Linked DNA regions of Homo sapiens: region 2 is linked to region 1. The links are contacts of gene promoters, found by promoter capture Hi-C in blood cells and fetal thymus (Javierre and others, 2016). All regions are on one chromosome and are shown on one strand. The core of a region is centred on a gene start or on the middle of the fragment in contact, and the rest is flanking DNA. Distances in the headings are between cores, read along the strand shown.

Evidence for each region. Contacts are between HindIII fragments. The CHiCAGO score rates a contact against its expected background, and 5 or more counts as called.
Region 2: a fragment that was not itself captured here is called in contact with the fragment with the promoter of PIANP in region 1 in 10 of 17 cell types (activated CD4 T cells, naive CD4 T cells, naive CD8 T cells and 7 more); the score reaches 9.8 in activated CD4 T cells.

The regions. Positions count from the first base shown.
Region 1 is chr12:6,698,917-6,702,906 of GRCh38, reverse strand. It overlaps PIANP (PILR alpha associated neural protein), which reads left to right and starts at 2,092. Exons shown (of 5, transcript NM_001244014.2): 1 at 2,092-2,293. RefSeq lists an enhancer at 2,811-3,312. The HindIII fragment of the contact is 12,862 bases long and covers 1-3,990 here.
Region 2 is chr12:6,775,169-6,779,158 of GRCh38, reverse strand. It overlaps LAG3 (lymphocyte activating 3), which reads right to left. Exons shown (of 8, transcript NM_002286.6): 5 at 3,611-3,886; 6 at 1,653-1,895; 7 at 1,238-1,368; 8 at 704-915. The coding sequence ends at 769. Among named protein-coding and RNA genes, the nearest start is that of LAG3, 4.6 kb to the right of the region's middle. RefSeq lists enhancers at 1-194, 397-446, 195-845. The HindIII fragment of the contact is 5,544 bases long and covers 1-3,990 here.

The DNA.
Region 1 (3,990 bases), core at 843-3,342:
GTGAGGCCAAGGCTGGTGGATCATTTGAGGTCAGGAGTTCAAGACTAGCCTGGCCAACATGGTGAAACCCTGTCTCTACAAAAAATACAAAAATTAGCAGGGCACTAGTGGGCACTGCCAGAGGGGTGGGAGGGCTGGGAAGGCTGGAAGGGCCCCCCTGCATGCACACGCTAGCTACTTGGGAAGCTGAGGCAGGAGAATTGCTTGACCCTGGGAGGCGGAGGTTGCAGTAAACTGAGATCGTGCCATTGCACTCCAGCCTGGGCAACAGAGAGACACACTGTCTCGAGAAAAAAAAAAAGTGCAGGGATGCTAAGAGAATGACTTCTGATGTTACAGAACAGCAAGTAGTCTGATCCAGCAGGAGCACTGTGTATGAGGTGGGTACAGGCTGGTGGGCTTCTCCTTACAAGGAGTTCAGATTTATTCCAAGTGTAATGAAAAACCACTCGAATATTTTAAGCAGAGAAGAGCATGACATGCTTTTGATTTTTAAAATATTATCAATATAGGAAAAACTAGTTTGTAAAGACAAGGGCAGAAGCAGGGACCAGTGAGGAAGCTATTATGATAATCTGGATGAGACATGATGGCTTAGACCAAGACTATAGCAATAAAGATAGAAGGAGATGAATTCGGGATATATTTTGGACGCAGAGCCCACAGGACTTGTTGGTGAATTAGATACAGGGAGAGAATCAGTGAAAAAAAGGGGAAGGGAGGGATGTTTCCTAGATTTTTAGCCTGAACAACTAGTAGTTGTGAAGCCTCAGGATGGGGATCACTGGGAGAAAAATGGATTGGGGGTGGGGGAATTCAAGACATCTATTTTAGTCAAGTTAGCTTTGCATGGCTATTAGACATCCAAGTGGAGATGTCAAGTAGGCTGTCGGATAAATGAGTCTGGCGCTCTGGATATAAATTTAGGACTCACTGACATTTACATAGTATTTAAGCCCTGGGACCGGATGAGATCACTGGACAGAGAATGTGGAAAGAGAGAATGGCCAAGGACTAAGCCCTAGGAGGCTCCAACATTTAGAGGTCACCCGAGGAAGACTAAGAACAGTCAGTGAGGTTGGAGGGAAATGAGGAGAGTGTGGTGTCCTGGAAGTGCCCTGAGGAAAAACAGCGTAGTGTGGTAGAGAGGGATGGGATCCAGGTGGTGGGAGAAGGGGCAGGAGAGGCTACTTTTGATAGAGACATTAGGGAAGGCCTCCCAGAAGGCGTTGGATCTAAGTGAGACTGGAATGAAAACAGTAAGTCATTGTGAAAAGCCAGGGAAATGTATTACTGAGGGAACAGCAAGTGCAAAGGCCCTGAGGCAGGTTAAACCTGTCTCCAACCAGGAAATCCACCAGGTCCCATGTGGCTGAAGCATAGAAATCTTTAGGAAAGGCAATCAGAGAGCCACCTAAGAGCCAGGTTATATAGGGTCTTGTAAGTCACAGCACGGAGTCTAGGTATTCCAGTGCTGGAAAAGCCCAGGAATTTCGACGTGATCCACTTAATGCATGGTAGCAGGGCCAGAGTGAAATAGGGGATCAAGCTGTGGGGATAATCCAAAGATGGTGCAAGGTCCTTCCTCCCCAGTCCTTTCCTCCACCCCTTGCCCCCAGCCTTGACCTCAGGCACTTTCTACAGCGGGCAAAACCAAGTTGGGGGACAGGCAGTGGTGACTCACGCCTGTAATCCCAGCACTCCGGGAAGCTGAGCGGGAAGGATCGCTTGAGCCCAGGCGTTCGAGACCGGGCTGGGCAACACAGCGAGACCTCATCTCTACAAAACACAATACAAAAGAACAAAGTTGGGAATGCAGAGCATTGAGTGACTCAGAATCTCAGAAACTGACTGAGGCGACCATGGGTGTCCCTGGAGTTGGGGTGAAGGAGGTGGGGAGACTGCCATCAGAACCCAGGGAAGCGGACGGTCGCTGGACCCTGCCAGCCTCTTCAGCCCTCCACCTGGGACATAGCCTGGCTTGACTCCTGCAGCGCGGCAGCAGGAGGGTTAAACCGTGCGTGGCCTCCGGCGCGGGGGGGAGGCGGAGACGGAGACGGAGCGGTCCCAGCCGCCGCGCCGAGCCCAGCCGAGCCGAGCCGAGCCGAGCCGAGGCGAGCATCTCCCACCGCCGCCGCCCCGCGCCCCAGGCGCCCGCCCCCCACCCGCTCCAGCGCCCTGCCGCGGGCCAAACCTCCCCACCATGCCCCGCACCCCGCCCGCTCCTGCGACCCCCCAGCCCCGCTCAGTCCCGAGCGCCCGCAGTCGTCGCGCCGCCGCGCCAAGCATGCAGGTGAGTGAGAGGGACCCCCACGCCCCCACCCGCGGGGAGCCCGGCCCTGCCCTTCCCGGCTCCGCGCCCTGCGCCTCCTGCCCCTCCCGACGCGGTCCCTCGCCCGGGACAAGGCCTCCAGCCTCCCAGCGCCCCTTCCCCGAAGGGCTCTCCATCCCTCCGCGGTCCTGGCTCGCTCCCGCCCTCCCTGGCGCAGCCGTCCCCGTCCCCGCGGCTGCCTCCATCCCGCCTCGGCTCGGCGGGCGGCTCCGCGCAGTCTCCTGCTTCGGGTCCCCAGTCCGCTCTCGGCACTCCCTGCCTCGGGGTCCCTTCGCCGACCTCCTTTTCCTCGTCTCCCCCCACTCTCGCCGCTCTCCAGCCCTGTGCGGGGAGTGCGGGCCTGCGGGATGGGTGGGATGGGGGCCACGCTGGGGCTGGGGCCCGGCTCCCGCACCCCGAGGCTCCTGCCCCACCCCCAGCTCGTCTCCTGCGCACAACAGGTCGGTGAGAAGCTGGGAGAGGGGTGGGGGTGGCGCGCCAGCCCGGGGACTGCGGGCTTCCTGGAGGGGGCGGCTGAAGCTGTGCGGGGCCCAGGGACTGGGTTGGCGCTGGCTGGGGGTGGGGATGCACAGGCGGAGGGGCGATAGTCCTAGAGTCAGCTGGCCACAGATGCGCCCTGGGAGCCCTTCTCCGCTTCACTGGTTCGCTCTACACGCCTCGCTCCCTCCCTCTAGCTTTCTTCCTTTCCCCTCTCTCTCCCTTCTTCCCACCATGCCCCCATCCCTATGTCTTTCGGTATCTCCACATCCCTTTACATTTGGGGGAGCAATTCCGAACTCCTCCATCTTTGCTGCTCCCGCCTCTGCTTCCCAGCCCGTTCCTCGTGTCATTTTTCCTTAAGCATTTATGTTCTCTCCTTCCCCACTTCCTTTCTCCCCATCCTGGGCTTTCCCCCCTTTTCTCCCATCCCCTTACTCTCCACTCCTCTGGCTGTCCTGCCTGGACCGCTCTCTCCTTCTCCTCCTGCCCCTTCTTCCCCTGCACCTGTGACCCCTTCATCCTCTCCGTTTCCCCTCCCTGACCTTTTCTCTCATCCTTTCCTCCCTTCGGCATCCTCCACAGTTCGAGTCTTCTGTACCCACTCTCCTCCTCTCTTCCCAGTTCTCTCTTTTTCAGGACTGCCTGCTCTCTCTCACCCTGCACTCCAGGCCAGCTTCCTCTTCACATTTCTCCTCTCTCACTCTTAACCAGCCTTCCATCTCCCAGCCCTTCACCCCTTCCCATCTCTCCCACTGCCTGCTTCCCCACGCCCTTCCCGTGACTTTCCCATCTTGTTCCCTTGTTGTTCTCTGGGAAGATTCAATGGGCAGATTTATTTATTTTATTTTTTGAGTCGGAGTCTCGCTCTTGTTGCCCAGACTGGAGTGCAATGGTGTGATCTCAGCTCACTGCAACCTCCGCCTCCCAGGTTCAAGGGATTCTTCTGCCTCAGCCCTCTGAATAGCTGGGATTGCAGGCGCCCACCACTACCCCCGGCTAATTTTTGTATTTTTAGTAGACACGGGGTTTCACTATGTTGGCCAAGCTAGTCTCGAACTCCTGATCTCAGGTGATCCACCCGCCTTGGCTTCCCAAAGTGCTAGGATTACAGGCGTGAGCCACTGCGTCTGGCCCATTGGGCAGATTTAGACCCAGAATCCACAGGAAACGGGTATCCT
Region 2 (3,990 bases), core at 385-2,884, 77 kb before region 1:
CAGGCCTGCCGCAGCCGGCCCAGTGACCTCCGTTGGGGTGTGACAAGCAGTGACCACTGGGTGGCAGTGTGTTCTCATGCCTGGGACCAGAAAAGCCTCCAAGGGCTGAGGAACGTGGGGGGTGGGGCAGAGGTAGGAGCCCCAGCCGGCTGCCCAGAGAGGTTTCCAGACCGGATCTCCTGGAAGACTTGACAAGGCAGTCCTCTGCGCGCCGCGCGTGTGTGTGTGTGTGTGTGTGTGTGCGTGTGCGCGCGCGCGTGTGTGTGCATGTGTGTGTGCACGTGCGCGCGAGCATATGTGCGCATCTGCTGCAGCCGGAGGGCCAAGGACAAGTGCTGAAGTGCAGCTGAGTGTGGGGTGGGGTGGACCCAAAGGACAAAAATATCAAGGAAACCAGGGCAGCCAGCGCACTGTGGGTGGAAGGTGGGTGGAAGGACGGAGGAGAGAGCTGCGGAGGCAAGGGGCAAGGGCTTTTTCGGGGGAGCTTCAGAGAAATGATTACCCAGGAGAGAGAAAGAGAGAGTGAGCGCAAGAGAGAGAGAGACCAAGAAAGAAACACGAAGCAGCCAGAAACAGAAAAGGGGAAGGTGAGGGAGGCTGGCTGGGGAAAGTAGGTTAGGAGGCTAGGGTGGGAGAAGGGAGCCCTCAGAGGCTGGGGAGAGACGGGAACCTTCACTTGGACAAGAAAGAGCCAGACTCAGGCTTGCTGCTGACAGGGAGTTTATTTGGACTGGGCTGCTGAGATCTGCTGGCTGCCTCAGCTCCAGGTCAGAGCTGCTCCGGCTCGGGCTCGGGCTCGGGCTCCGGTTCCGGCTCCGGCTCCGGCTCCGGTTCTTGCTCCAGCTCCTCTATCTTGCTCTGAGCCTGCGGAGGGTGAATCCCTTGCTCTAAGGCAGAAAATCGTCTTGGTCGCCACTGTGAGAAGAGATGGAGAGAGAGACGGAGGGCGGAAGGAGGAGAAGGATGAAGGGAAGCGGATGAGGAGGGACACTGAGTCCCTCTATTTTTTCTCAGCGCCCCTGCCCTCCCCATCTGGTCCTGGCTTTCTCCCAACCCCCCTTCCAGCCTACCCAGGCACAAGCCATCCCTGGAGTGAGAGGCTTATGAAGAAGGGGGGCTCTGAGGGCAAGTTCAGGGTCCCATTTGGTCACCTTCCTGAGGAAGGGGTGCCATCAGCACTCTGAGGATGGAAGAGCGGGAGCTGCTGGGGGGCGGGGTTGCCATGTCCCTGGCTCACCTGTCTTCTCCAAAGGTGAAAGCCAAAGGCTCCAGTCACCAAAAGGAGCAGAGAAAGGACACCAAGGATGAGAAACAGCAGGAGGTGGCCTGCTGGGAGGGCACCTGGGGCTCTCCCAGAGCGTTGGGCACCTATGGAGAAAGTACAGGATGAGGCATAGGGTCAGGACTAGAAAGGACACTTTGTCATTCTCTCAGACTTTACAGATGCAATGAGATCCAGAGAGTTTAAGGGACTTGTCCCAGGGTCATTCAGCTGATCAGTGGCGGAAACGGGTCAACCCTAGGCAAAAGCCAGAGATCAGGTCCCTGACTGGAAAGAAAAGCGCTGGGATGGGGGTGGCAGGGGCTGTTCTGGAAGGAGGATAAAGATTATTGCTGTGGCGTTTGGGTCCTGGCATTCTGGGGCCTCGGACCTGGGCTAGACAGCTCTGTGAAGTACACTGCTGCTCCAAGAAGCCTCTCCCCCTGGTACAGCTGGCATTGCCAAGGCTGGGAAAGGAGCTGGGCCTCCTGTGCCTCCAGCCAAGGTCCTGAGAAACTCCTCTGGGATGGGGTGTCCAGAGAGCTCCACACAAAGCGTTCTTGTCCAGATACTGGAGTCACCTCACAAAGCAGCTTCCCCAGGGATCCAGGTGACCCAAAGGATTTGGGAGTCACTGAAAAGAGTAGAAGGAAGAGATCTTTTGGGATTCTGCCCCCCTTACGTGATATCACAGGTTGAACCCCAAGTCTCAATCACCCTGCACTCACTTGGGTTCTGGCCAGGGGAGGTTGGGGAAGGACATCATGGGTCATGGCCACGTTCATCTTTTTCTTTCTATTTATTTTTTTATTAAATTGTATACAGATGCGTTTTCACCATGTTGCCCAGGCTAGTCTGGAATTCCTGGACTCAAGTGCTCCTCTCGTCTCAGCCTTTCAAAGTGCTGGGATTACAGGTGTGAGCCATCATGCCCTGCCGGCCACATTTATCTTATTCAGACAATGCTCTAGTCAGCTCCCTCCCCTGCTCAAAACATTTCCAGGCTCCCTACTGCCTTCACACTCAAACTGGCCCTGGCAGACCACAGAATAAATACTATTACAGATTCTTTTACATTACTTTCTACTCAAATGCTCAGAACCCTCAAAATCAGTCAGATGAGCTGACCCCCATCTACTTCACAATTTTGGAACTTCCATGATGCGGCTCACATCAGTGTCCCCTGCCTTGTGGTGCCCCCTGAATGAACATCATCCCCCTTTCTGAAGGTATAGAGAACAGGGAACTGACCCATTCATCTAGAGACAGAGCATTCTCCAAGTTGTAAAGTGAGAGATGGGTGGGTGGGAGGAGACAAAGGGTGAAGGGCATCTGAGTAGTGTCCTGGAGAGTGATTTGGTGATGCAGACACCTGAGTTTAGACCCAGAGTCTGGCACTTCCCAGCTGTTTTGAGAAAGTCTTCGGGGTAACAGTATCTCTCTCATTGAGCCGTCTACATAAAACAGTTGACCTTCAAGAGGGCATTGGACAGAAAGAACTGGTGGACTTTGATGACTGATGGGATGTAGAGAGGAGGAGGCCAGGTTTCGAGGTGGATGGATACCAGTGGATTACTGACAGGCTGAGTCAGCAAGGGGATTGGTGGGAGAAAAAGCTGGGGTTCAGGGTAAGGCGGCTGAGAGGTGGTATAACATCTAGTTAGAGGTATCCAGAAAGCAAGTGAAAACTCAGGATTGGCCTTCAGGAGATGTATTATCCATTAGCATGTTCACGTATTCATTCAATCTCTATACATTATTAAGCACCTGCCGTGGGGTGCTACTACTGAGTGGCCGCAGGTGCGTGCTGCAGACATGGCTAATCTGTCATGGCCGATAGTTATCAACCAGTCAACACATACTCTCTGAGTATTCTTTTTTCTGTGTTTGTTTTATACTGTCTTGGAAAACCCTTGCTCAGTAAATATTTGCTGACCAAGGGACGGATTTATTCACTCCTCCCAAATCCAGGCCACTTCCTGCAACTCTAACCCAAGCCCTGGCTGCAAAGTAGACAAGGATTCTAGAAATATATTCTACCTCTTTCGAACCATTCAGAATTTTTGTCACCTTTCCTTCTAACTTCCCAGACCCTCCCGCCAATTGAGAGCAGGGGAGTCCCATAGAGAACGGTGGAACTTTTATCTTGTGACTCAAGAGGAGATTTTCAGTTTCGTTTCTTTATTATGGGGGTGAGAAAAGTGGGGGCCGAGATGGGCAGGCTCTGGAACTTGTGCCCAGTGGCCTGGCATCACAGGGTGGGTTTGCCTAGTCTTTGCCCTGCCAGCCCTTCCTCCCTGTCCTTTCTACCCTGGGAGGGCAGCTACTCCTTTCCCACCTGAGGCTGACCTGTGATGATTGCCAATGTGACAGTGGCATTGAGCTGCTGTTCCTGCAGATGGATATGGCAGGTGTAGGTCCCAGCCTGGGCCTGGCTCACATCCTCTAGTCGAAGGGTAAAGTCGCCATTGTCTCCAGTCACCAGGAGGTCAGGGCCTCCCCCAGGAGGAGTCCACTTGGCAGTGAGGAAAGACCGGGTCCCCACACCAGCAGGCAGGCGGCAGGGCAGCCCCACCCTGGAACCTGCTCCAGCGTACACTGTCAAGGGAGTTGGGGGCTCCAGACCTGAAGAGAAAAGAAAACCCAAAGTTAAAGCTGGGTGCTGCAGTGGGGAGGGAGTGCTGGGGCTGCAAGGAAGGGAGGCAGAAGAATTCAGGAGATGGTCTGGC